2 separate regions of the Homo sapiens genome follow, and region 1 is linked to region 2. The links are contacts of gene promoters, found by promoter capture Hi-C in blood cells and fetal thymus (Javierre and others, 2016). All regions are on one chromosome and are shown on one strand. The core of a region is centred on a gene start or on the middle of the fragment in contact, and the rest is flanking DNA. Distances in the headings are between cores, read along the strand shown. Region 1 holds the start of MALAT1 (metastasis associated lung adenocarcinoma transcript 1). Region 2 holds the start of CTSW (cathepsin W).

Region 1 (5,932 bases), core at 1,775-4,274, 380 kb after region 2:
TACTCTTCCAAGGATAAAAGCAGCTCCAGTCCCTGAAGGTGTTCGTGCCAACAGCACAGCGGTACACTCCTTCTCTAACCCAGTTTGTCAATAGTACTATAGCATCTGTGGAAAATCTTAGAAAAAAACATTTTCTCCCCCACCCTCTCTCTTCCCTGTTAAGACCATCCCAAAATGCTTCAAGTAAAAAATAACAAGTTTAAGGGGTTAAGCACTTTTAAAGTCTGATTAAGGGGGTGGGGGGAAAAAAGAGTAACTACCAGCCATTTCTCCAATGGACATCTCTTCCACAGACCTCAACGTGAGAACTGCTCTAGTTTCTATAAACTGTAAACCTGTGGTGGTCTGATTATCCTGATATTGGATTTTCTTGTTTTCTGTTACACCTTGAGTCATTTGCCTTTAGGATTCTAGACAGACCTAAGGGAAAAAGAACTGAAAACATATTTTGCCCCCACCCCCACAAAAAAAAATACTGAAAACTCCCCCCCGCCTCAGTTACACATCCAAACTCTACATTTACAAAACGAATTCAGGGTGAGGAAGTAAAAACAGGTCATCTATTCACAAAACTGAAATACTTCATTACCCCAACTAAACATACAAACTGCTTACAGATTTGCTGAAATTGTCTCAATTTGGCTATCAAATTCATTTGGTTTTCCTCAAATTCGTGTAAAAAAAAAAAACCCACAAACTTGCCATCTACTATTTCTCCAGGACTTGGCAGTCTGCCCTCAAAAGCTTCAGACAAGATTCATGAGTATAAGCCTGAAAAAGAGAAACCTACAACACCCGGAAATCGGCCTACGTCCCCATATAAATCCCTTTACACCTCAGTACGAAACTCCCCCATTATATTAGAAAATAAATAAAAGGTTACCATAAGTAAGTTCCAGAAAAACAACATATTGCCGACCTCACGGATTTTTACCAACCACTCGCTTTCCCTGTGGCCTTGGCACACTGGCATGCTGGTCTAGGATCCTCTACGCACAACGCCTGCTCGCCTCCTCCGTGTGGTTGCCAAGCCAAGCCGCCTGCTACCTTCATCACCAAATTGCACTCGCTCCTTCCTGGAATCCTTTTTCCTAGCTTCACCACCAAATCGTTAGCGCTCCTTCCTTCTTCCTAGCTTCCTTCACCAAATCGCACTGGCTCCTGGACTCTTTTCCTATCTTCACCACGAACTGCTGCTTGCTCGCTTGCTCCTCAGTCCTAGCTTCATCAAACACTGGTTCCTGGAATCCTGTCTGCTGCTGTCTTCCTAGATTCACTGAATCCACTTCTGTGTAGCACCTGGGTCAGCTGTCAATTAATGCTAGTCCTCAGGATTTAAAAAATAATCTTAACTCAAAGTCCAATGCAAAAACATTAAGTTGGTAATTACTCTTGATCTTGAATTACTTCCGTTACGAAAGTCCTTCACATTTTTCAAACTAAGCTACTATATTTAAGGCCTTCCAAATTCTTCTAACTCTTCCAAAAGCCTTCTGCCTTAGTTTTTTTTAAATTACACCAGTCCTTTTAGTAGCTTTTTGATGTGATTTTTAACCAACTTCCCCTTCTAGCTTCAAGTATTCTTCTAAATTGGTTCTGGTCTACGTAAACACCCTCATCTTCTCAAGCTTTACCTTCTAACTTCTGCACCACCAGAAATTAAATTGATGGGCTTTTAAAATAAATTGGTTACCAATAATTTCCTCATTTTTTCAGTGCTATTTTATCCAATTTTTGGCTTTATATTTTTCTATCTTCTATACTTCTCCAATACTTGTCTTAGCTTGTTTTTCATTTTCTATCTGAAACTCTTGACAATATTTTCATTTTCTATCTTGTTTCTATCTTCCAATTTTCTTCTAAGTTTGTACATTTTGCCCTTAGCTTTTTGTTTCCTAGCTTGTCTTTTTTCTTCTGCTTCCTACTTTTCAGGTTTAAATTTATCTTTTTTCTTCTAAAAGTATGTTTTTATCTTCTAATTTCCCTATCTTCTCTATTCTTTTCTTCGCCTTCCCGTACTTCTGTCTTCCAGTTTTCCACTTCAAACTTCTATCTTCTCCAAATTGTTTCATCCTACCACTCCCAATTAATCTTTCCATTTTCGTCTGCGTTTAGTAAATGCGTTAACTAGGCTTTAAATGACGCAATTCTCCCTGCGTCATGGATTTCAAGGTCTTTTAATCACCTTCGGTTTAATCTCTTTTTAAAAGATCGCCTTCAAATTATTTTAATCACCTACAACTTTTAAACTAAACTTTAAGCTGTTTAAGTCACCTTCATTTTAATCTAAAAGCATTGCCCTTCTATTGGTATTAATTCGGGGCTCTGTAGTCCTTTCTCTCAATTTTCTTTTAAATACATTTTTTACTCCATGAAGAAGCTTCATCTCAACCTCCGTCATGTTTTAGAAACCTTTTATCTTTTCCTTCCTCATGCTACTCTTCTAAGTCTTCATATTTTCTCTTAAAATCTTAAGCTATTAAAATTACGTTAAAAACTTAACGCTAAGCAATATCTTAGTAACCTATTGACTATATTTTTTAAGTAGTTGTATTAATCTCTATCTTTCAAAGAGAAAAAAACTTATCTGCGGTTTCCTCAAGCTCCGCCTGCCCCCTCAGCAGAAGCCCCTGCGCTGGCTGCCTCAATGCCTACCGCACAGCTCGGGCGAGGCGTATTTATAGACGGAGAACAACTCGCATCACCGGAATTCGATCACCTTCCGCCGCCTTTGTGAGGGAGGCAAAAAGTAGTTCTTCGGTTAAAAATAGGTTCTAGTTTTACTTTTCTAGATTTTTCTTAACAGCTTATGGAACTTGAATGCAAACTACACATGCAGAAATACTTAAATTACTAGCGTGTGGAAAGATTTGAGCTGCAAACTTTAGACAAAAGAAACATGGAAATCATATTTTAAACGGGTCATCAAACACCTCACAAAACCCCCGGAACTTTTAAAATACCTCTTAAAGCACTTCTTGTGTTCTCTTGAGGGACAGTAGGTATAGTTTACCACCTTTTGAAGGAAGATTAAAGTGTGATAGTTCAGGGCTTTACTTTCCATTACGCAACTGAGCCCCAGCCTTGCAGGGACGGTTGAGAAGTGGCAAAATGGCGGACTTTCTCCCCCAACTGCTTGCAGTCCTGCGACTTGCTCCCAAGACAGCCACACGTTTTGCTTTTTTGTTCGAGAAATCGGAGCAGCACGGGCTGTCTGCTTGGGAAATCTTAGAAACGTGAAAACCCACTCTTGGAAAACGCCTCAATCCCACACCACAGAGCTGCTCCCCGCCTGAGCCCCGGGGGCCGTTGGCTGCCAGTGGCCCACTCTGATCTGCGGCCCCCCAGTTGCCGCCAGCCCCCCACGGCCCGCACGGAAATTTTTCTACCGTTTTTCAGCTTCCAGGCTCTCCTGAAAGTGCTCACAAGGCAAATCGCCATGGAAAGCGAGTTCAAGTGGCCTTTTAAAGTAGACCAACTAAGCGAATGGCTTTGTCTCCGAAGACACAGAGACCTTGGGCAGCCAGTCAGGGACACACCCAGAAGTGTTTACACTGCTCTGGGTCTGCTTTTTTAGGGGTTTTTGTTTTGCAGATTCTGTGTTATGCCTGGTTAGGTATGAGCTTCAGACCTTCTGAACCGGAGCAGGAAGAAAAATAAAAGCTTTCCTCCAAACCCCAAGACCAAACTGCAGAGTTTGAGTGGTTTTATCTAAATACCACCACCTGGAATGGCCAGCCTATAAGGACAGCTAAGATAGCAGCACAACTCGTCGCTGCGTCCCAAGGACTCTGGGAAACCTGGGCTCCCGGAGGCGTCAGAGGGGACCTGCCTTCAGGCGAGCTGAGGCTTCCCGGCGCCGGGCTTCTGCGTTGCTAAAATGGCGCTGCGCTTAAGAGGGCAGGAGAGGCCAGTTGCGGGGCCCCAGTCCTTTACAGAAGTCTCGGGCTGCAGGCTGCGGAGGGGAGAGCGGGGGCGGGGAGGGACTGCGCAACCGGTGGGGCTGCGTCAGGGACAAACGCCGGGGGAGGGGCGGCTCGCGAGCGCCGCGCAGGGATACGCGAGGGCCGTGAGCCGCCCTCCCTTTGTGAGGCGCTGGCTCGTGGGCGGGCGCCACTGGTTCTAACCGGCTCTAGCCGGTCCTGGCCGCCTTCCCGGAGCTGTGGCGGTTGGCGCAGCGCGTGACTGCGCACGCGCGCCCCGCCCTAACGCCTGTGCCTGTTCTGGGGAATGGCATGGGGGCGGGGTGGCAGCTGGCCTGGGAACTTCTCGGTCGCTACTCTGCGCTGTCACTGCACTTGGGGGCTGGTCTTTCTTTCGTGGAGCTGCTGCCCAACTTCCATTTTCAGTCTAGGTCTTCCTTTCCCACCTCTCTCCTGTCCTTTGTCATTTCCTCCATATAGTCTCGACGTCATCCATTAATTTAAAATCAGAACACAAACCTCGTGTAGCTATCAAGGGCCATGGCATTATTGTAAAATATCTTCGTCGTTTGTATGTCACCAGGTCTTACTAGTCTAGAATTCTCGGGGCAGAAGTGGTCTCAGGCTGACCTTGCAGCAGCCTAATTTTTTAGAAAAGAAACTGAAGCAATGACCTAAAATGGAGAGTTCCAGGGCACACAAAGCTTGGAGCTGGACGGGGTGGTGACACCCACCCTCTCCGCTCCCTCACCCCCGGGTCTTTGGAACCTGTATCCATGGCTTGTTTTTAGGCAGTCAACTCCGAGGGGAGAGATTAGTGACGCTGTATAGGTTAGGATGGCAAAACTAACACAATGATACAGCAACTCTATGAAGTTGATTTCTAAAACTCCTTTGGCTCCTGTAAATGATGCAGGTTGTGTACGGTGTTGGGGAGCTGCCCTGGGGGCTCCAGGAAATGAGGGTCCTGTTTTCTGGGCCAACTCCCTGTCCCCACCTGCCCACATAAAGCAGGGCCTGTTGAAGCAGCTGTTCTCAATTGACGCTGGTGAAACTGTTCTTGTTTTCTTTTCTTTTCTTTTTTATTTTTAAGCCTGTAAGAGTGGAATATTACTGAGATGCAGCCGGATCCCTTCAGGCACAGTCCTGATGCTTGCTCTGGGGTTGGAAATTTTTTAGTAGAATTTTATCGCTGGATGAAGGAAAACTGAGGCAGGTCACCTCGTTTCGCAAATGGGGATTTGGGGGCCTGGAGATTTTGTGATTTGCCTGAAATGACACACAGCTAATTAATAGCAGAAGCTGTTCTTGAATCCCAGATTTTCCACGTCCTGCTGCCTCCCTTCCTCTCCAGCACTTCTGTCAGTCTCTCCAACTGCGGTTTTTCTATATCTGGGGGAGGACCTAGGACCTGCTCTGTACTCTCTGCTCTCTCCTTCACTCTAGAGCGAGTGAGATGAACGTTAAGAGCCCTAAAATGCTTTAAATTATTGTCAGTGTCACTGCATTAATTTCCATTACCTTGACAGATTACAGAATGTTTCTTTTTTTTTTTTTTTGAGACGAAGTCTCACTCTATCGCTGAGGCTGGAGTGCAGTGGCGGGATCTCGGCTCACCGTAACCTCCGCCTCCCTGGTTCAAGCAATTCACTTGCCTCAGCCTCCCGAGTAGCTGGTACTACAGGCGCCCGCCACCACGCCCGACTAATTTTTTGTAGTTTTAGCAGAGACAGGGTTTCACCGTGTTAACCAGGATGGTCTGGATCTCCTGACCTCGTGATCCGCCCGCCTCGGCCTCCCAAAGTGCTGGGATTACAGGCTTGAGCCACTGTGCCCAGCCGCCAGAATGTTGTACAGTCATCCCTTGGTATCCATGGGGCCTTGGTTCTAAAACCTCTCCTCGGATGCTAAAATCTGAAGATGCTCAAGTTCCTTATGTAACCTACAGATATCCTCCCATATCCCTTAAATCATCTCTAGTTTGCTTATAATACCTAATACAACGTAAA
Region 2 (6,409 bases), core at 1,804-4,303:
GCAGCATGATGAAGTCCTGGATCCAGGCCACCTTCTGGTACTTCTTGGGGTGGCACCTGTGGGCTCTGACTTTGCCCTGGAACGGGTAGTCCTTTTCACTGGCCAGGCCGCCTGCAGATAAGCAAGACAAGGGAGGAGGTTCCGCTCCTGCCCACCCTGTCCCCCTGCAGATGTCCAGAGTGGCGGGGCAGTGCACTCACTGTTGTTGAGGACAGTTATGAACGCGTCCCAGACGAAGCCACCGTGGCAGCCATCCCCACAGCGGCCACAGTCCAGCAGTTCTGGTGCAAGAAGGGACAGTGTGGGTGACCAGGCCCCTAGGCCTCCCTCCCCTGTCACACGCGCACCCTCTCCCAACCCTACCCTGCACGGAGACATCCACAAAATCCCAGAAACTGATGCGCCACAGGGTCTCTATGTTGCCTGCCGCTGCCATGGCCCAGCAGCAGTTGCAGTTTTTCTGGAGGGCGAGAGGGTGGGGCGGGGCTAGGTGTTCGGGCCGTGCCCCTCTCCCTCCCACCACTTAGCTGAATTAGAGCCAGCTGGGTAGCGGCAGATACCTGGTCCTTGATGGGTGAGATGGCGCTGGCCACCTTCCGCCAGTCACAGCTGAAAGGTACTGACTCCTCTGGCTCTTCAGACCTTATTTCTCTGCCCATGCTGGGGACCCCTCCAGCTGCCCTCCGATAGCCATAGAGCTGGCCAAACTCCTCCTCTGGGGAACAGACAGGGCCACTGAGGTCTCCATTTTGACCCCTTCTCCCTGTTCTGCCTCTCCCACTCCAGCTGTTGGTCCCATAATTCCCTGAGGGGCAAAAAGGCAAGGATAGGCCGGGCGTGGTGGCTCACACCTATAATCCCAGCACTTTGGGAGGCCAAGGTGGGTGGATCACTTGAGGTCAGGAGTCCGAGACCCCATCTCCACAAAAAGTAGAAAAATTAGCTGGGCGTGGTTGTGCGGGCTTGTAGCCCCAGCTACTTAGAAGGCTGAGGGGTCGGGGGAATTGCTTGAGTCTAGGAGGTGGAGGCTGAGTGAGCTGTGATTGCACTATTGTACTGCAGCCTGGACAACAGAGCAAGACCCTGTCTCAAAAAGGCAAGGGTGCCAAGCCTAGAGAGGCTGGGCTCCCTGCTGGGTGCTTCCCTGCAGCTGCTGCGCTGGCCCCTAGGCTGGATTAGGACACAGGACTGCAGAGATTCTGCCCCTGCACTGGGTGATTTGATACCAGCACCCAAGCCCCTGGTCCTCAGGGAAATGAATTTCCTTCCCTGGGAAGTAAAAATTGAAGGTCCGCTGGGTCCAGCTGCCAGTGTCCCTGGGGAGATCGCTTCCCAACCACCACCTACGAGCCAGAAGGGTTAATGGTACCTGTGAGGTCACTGAATGGAGTCACCCCAAACTCAGCTGTGCCCAAGTCCTCCTCCTGCAGCCTCTGAGCCTGGGCCAGGTTGTGGGCAAAGATGTCCAGGCGGTGAGCATGCTCTGGACCAAAAGGGAGTTGTCCTAGGCTGACTCCCAAGCCCTTAGGGGCAGGAAGTAGCCGCTGGCTGGGCACCCTTCCACCCACACCCACCCAGTTGAGCACTGGCTCCTTTCCTGTAGCCCCCACAAGGCCCCACTGCAGATACCCAGGCCCAGGAAGTGGTTACCCAGCCCACCGAGGGTTGGGTTTTCCCCAGAGGCAGCCAGAGGACCATCTCTGGCCACCCTAGGTGGGAAGCCAGGCAAGGGGTCCGGTGGTGGTGACTCAAGGATGTGTGGCTGGAGACCAGCTTCCTGCCAGGCCACGTCCTTTACACCTCTGACCACAGGAGGAGAGCTGGAACATGGCAGGGAGAGGAGATGACAAGGCACAGGCAGTCTGGGCTAAAAGGCACACACAGATCAGCCCCCTAGAGAGATCAGCACAGCGAGAGGGCAGGGGCAGGGGTTAGATCATGGGCTAGAGAAGAAGTCCCCAATGTGGGGACAAAATGGGTGTCCTTGGGTGTTTGCTGAATGAGCAAATGACTAGGTGGTGGCCCCCTGTCCACTGCCTAGAATCGCAGGGAAGTGGCTGTGGAGCCAGGGGATCACGTAGGACTAGGGCAGGACCCCACCTCCTGCCACTGCCCTCCAGATCCATAGCAAAGAATGATCCTGGACCCACTCATGCCTTCGGGAAACCAGGGAACACACCCCCAGCCCTGGCCTGTCCTGCTGAGTGGCCTTGGCCATGCCTGTTCCCCACCCTGAGCTTCGATTTCTTCATCTATTACAAAGCGGGATGGCTGGGCTCCGTGGCTTACACCTGTAATCCCAGCCCTTTGGGAGGCCGAGGCAGGCGGATCACCTGATGTCAGGAGTTCAAGACCAGCCTGGCCAACATGGTCAAACCCCATCTCTACTAAAAATGTAAAGGTTAGCCAAGTGTGGTGGCGCATGCCTGTAATCCCAGCTACTCAGAGGCTGAAGCAGGAGAATCGCTTGAACCCGGGAGGTGGAGGTTGCAGTGAGCCAAGATGACACCATTGCACTCCAGCCTGGTCAACAAGAGTGAAACTCCGTCTCAAAAAAAAAAAAAGTGGGGGCTTGGACTGGAGATGTATGTGCCCTGTGATACCTTCTGGGCTCAGGTAACTCCGGTTGAACTGGATCTGGAACAACTTGAAGGCCTCTTTCAGCTCTAGCGGCTGGGGACCTAGGTCCTGGCAAGGAACCAAGGGTGGAGAGGGGCAGTGGGCAGAGGAATCATTGCTGGGGCCCCACCTTAGTTCCCAGCCGTGCAAGGACTGGGCTAGGGGTCAGCCAGTTAGCCTTTTCTGTCTTCCCATGTGCCCTTGGGCACGTCAGCCCCCTCTCCAGCCTCAGCAACTCCCTCTGAAAAATGAGAATGACAGGCCAGCTGTTTCTGAAGGGGTGACCCCAGGCGTGGGACTGGCATAGGTAAGGGTTTGGGAGCACTTACCTGGGCCCTAAGGGGGCCTCTGATGCCTTGGGCTAGGCCTGCCACCAACAGGGCCAGGAGGCAGGAGGGGTGGGCAGTCAGTGCCATGCCGGTGCAGTCTGGAGTGGCATGGAGGCAGGAAGCCGCGCAGATCGAGGAGGACGGTGTGAGGGTGGGGCTGGAGAAACCACGAAGGGGAAGACAGGCTTGGTGGGTGGAGGGTGGACCCCTAGAACCCACAAGTTGCTCAGGCCTTCAGGCTTTCAGTCCCTGCCTGTCTGCTCCCCATCCCACCCCTTTTTCTTTCTTTCTTTCTTTCTTTTTTTTTTCCACCCAGGTTGGAGTGCAGTGGCATGATCTCGGCTCACTGCAACCTCCACCTCCCGGGTTCAAGCAATTCTCCTGCCTCAGCCTCCCGACTAGCTGGGACTACAGGCATGCACCACCATGCCCAGCGAATTTTTTGTATTTTCAGTAGAGACAGCATTTCACCATGTTGGTCAGGCTGGTCTCCAACTCCTGACCTCAGGTGATCCACCTGCCTCAGCCTCCCAAAGTGCTGGGATAACAGGCATGAGCCACTGCGCCCAGCCAAGGGAACCACTCTTGCTCATCCTATGAAGCTCAGTCAGCTCAATGGCCGCCTCTTTCAAGAAGCCTTCCCTGCTTCCCCAACCTCTGGTAGAAGCTTTGCAGCCCCTTCAGCCCAGCTGCACCTGTGCCCATTGGGCATCTGCCTCCAACCACACCAGAAGTGTTCAGTTCGCTTGTGTCCTCGGTGTCCTCGGTTCCCAGGATAGGGCTAGGCATGAGTCAGGCTCGCTAGGTGTTTGTTGACTGAACAATTGATCATCATGAGTTTTAAACAGGAAAGCAGGCCGGGCATAATGGCTCATGCCTGTAATCTCATCACTTTGGGAGGCCAAGGTAGGAGAATCATTTGAGCTCAGGAGTTGGAGACAAACTTGGACAACTGAGCAAGGCTTCATCTCTACTTAAAAAAAAAAAAGTTAGCCAAGCATGGTGGTGCTCTCCTGTAGTCCCAGCTACTGGGGAGGCTGAGGCCAGTGGGATTGCTTGAGCCTGGAAGATTAAGGCTGCAGTGAGCTATGATCATGCCTCTGCACTCCAGCGTGGGTCCAAGATCCTGTGTCAAAAAAACAAAACCAGGCCAGGCACGGTGGCTCACGCTTGTAATCCCAGCACTTTGGGAGGCCGAGGCGGGTGGATCACCTGAGGTCAGGAGTTGGAGACCAGCCTGGCCAACATGGTGAAACCCTGTCTCTACTAAAAATACAAAAAAGCAGCTGGGCATGGTGGCGGGCGCCTATAATCCCAGTTACTCGGGAGGCTGAGGCACAAGAATCACTTGAACCTGAGAGGTGGAGGTTGCAGTGAGCCGAGATCGCACCATTACACTCCAGCCTGGGCAACAAAAGTGAAACTCCATCTCAAAAAACAAAACAAAACAGGAAAGCGCAGAGTCAGAGTCCGGGAGCAGCAACTGCAGCCAGTGCCTCCCGTTCCTCATCCCTCCCACGGTCTAGGGATGAGGATGAGGGGGCTGAAGAGCCAGAAGGATAACAGGGTGAGCATCACAGACGGAGGGAGGCCAAAGCCTGACTTGTGAGGTCAAGGGCTGGGCAGCAGCATTAACACCCGTTACTGCTGCCTTTGTTCTAAGTGGGTCCTTGGGCTGGGGACCTCCCCTATAGGAGTTCAGGCTGAGAACTGGTGACCAAGACCAGAGAAGGGTGTGAAGAGCTGGCTTTCTAGGGTTCCATGGGGTGGGAGACAGGACAGCTATAATCCTGGGATTTATTCACTTACATGCTCACTACTGCGTTTCTTTTTTTTGTTTGTTTTTTTGAGACGGAGTCTCGCTCTGTCGCCCAGGCTGGAGTGCAGTGGTGCGATCTCGGCTCACTGGAACCTCCACCTCCTGGGTTCACGCCATTCTCCTGCCTCGGCCTCCCGAGTAGCTGGGACTACAGGCACCCGCCACCACGCCCGGCTAATTTTTTGTATTTTTTAGTAGAGACAGGGTTTCACCATGTTAGCCAGGATGGTCTTGATCTCTTGACCTCGTGATCCGCTCGCCTCGGCCTCCCAAAGTGCTGGGATTACAGGCGTGAGCCACCACGCCCGGCCTACCATGTTTCTTTATTAGGATTCCTCCCAGAGTCGTGAGGCCACACTTTGTCACCCTGCCCAGAGAGTAAACCAAGGGGCTTCTCTATCTGAAAAGCATGCTGCTGCCTTTATTGAAATGCAGTGGACAGACCATCCCCAGAGTGGTGCCTGGCCCTGTGGTTCTAGAGCCCAGTTATGGGCCCCAGCCAGTCTTGTCCTGTGTGTGACTGATAGTTAAGGCTCCATGTCAGCCCTCAGAGGTGGAGGTCCCAGTGTGGGCCTCTTGTGATGGTAGGGGATGTGGGAGGCCACGGGGAAAAGGAACTGGAGGTGTGGGGCCCAGTGGCCTTCCCTTTGATCCTCTCCTCCCTTCCCTTGAACTAGAGCTCCTGAGGCCAGGAGGTTTGGGTCTGTTTTTGGTCAGTGCTGTGTCCCTGGCTAGCACCACAGCATCTGCTTCACAGTGGCCACTCAGTAAACATTGTTTGTTTTGTTTTGCTTTGTTTTTTTGAGACAGAGTCTCACTCTGTCGCCCAGCCTGGAGTGCAGTGTCACGATCTCGGCTCACCGCAACCTCTGCCTCCCGGGTTCCAGCAATTCTCCTGCCTCAGCCTCCCAAGTAACTAGGGCTACAGGTGTGCACCACCATGCTGGGGTAATCTTTTTGTATTTTTAGTAGAGACAGGGTTTCACCATGTTGGTCAGGCTGGTCTCAAACTCCTGACCTCAAGCAATCCACCTGCCTTGGCCTCCCAAAGTGCTGGGATTACAGGCGTGAGCCACTGCACCCGGCCGAGAAAACATTTGTTGAGTGAATCAATGAACTTCCTCCACCCACTCACTCATTTGTTCATTCAACTGCCTACTCTGCAGATCCCAGCTGGTACCCAGTAAGGGCTGGGCCATGGGCACAGGGGCCTCACTGCCTGAGAGGAGCTCCCTGCTTGGTAGGAGGGAGACACTGATCCAGTGGTGTCTGGGACCTTGAAAGGGACCCAGTGCAGAGCAGGCGAAGGCAGGGAAAGTCACTGGGGGTGCAGAGGACGAGGGAGGCATTCTGAGGAGGCAACTCCAAGTGGAAGGCTCACTCGGGCTGGATAGTGCAAAGATGGAGGTTCAGGTCTAGGTTGTGCACCAGCTGTGCACTAAGTCATCCCCCCTGGGCCTCATGTCTTCATCTCTAATTGGCAATGACAATTCTCAGGCTGAGGCTTGAGTGGAAGATACTTAGTGGAGCACCCACCACTGTGGCTGGCACAGAGTGGGTGTTTGCAGGGCGGGTCCTTAATGCTCTAATATGGGGCAAGGAGCCCAGCGAGTCTTGAAGTCCGTGGGACATGAGTGCAAGT

The links. Contacts are between HindIII fragments. The CHiCAGO score rates a contact against its expected background, and 5 or more counts as called.
Region 1: a contact is called between a fragment that was not itself captured here and the fragment with the promoter of CTSW in region 2, in 1 of 17 cell types (fetal thymus). The highest score is 5.4, in fetal thymus.

Annotation. Positions count from the first base shown.
Region 1 is chr11:65,495,766-65,501,697 of GRCh38, reverse strand. MALAT1 (metastasis associated lung adenocarcinoma transcript 1) reads right to left here and starts at 2,653. Exons shown (of 1, transcript NR_002819.5): 1 at 1-2,653. It also overlaps TALAM1. RefSeq lists enhancers at 2,763-2,842, 2,893-2,962, 3,523-3,592, 3,653-3,892, 4,122-4,266 and 3 more, a silencer at 3,933-3,992 and a cis regulatory region at 4,186-4,201. The HindIII fragment of the contact is 1,283 bases long and covers 2,383-3,665 here.
Region 2 is chr11:65,876,481-65,882,889 of GRCh38, reverse strand. CTSW (cathepsin W) reads right to left here and starts at 3,053. Exons shown (of 10, transcript NM_001335.4): 1 at 2,949-3,053; 2 at 2,604-2,688; 3 at 1,370-1,483; 4 at 561-715; 5 at 364-460; 6 at 201-281; 7 at 1-111. The coding sequence starts at 3,035. The HindIII fragment of the contact is 11,122 bases long and covers 1-3,617 here.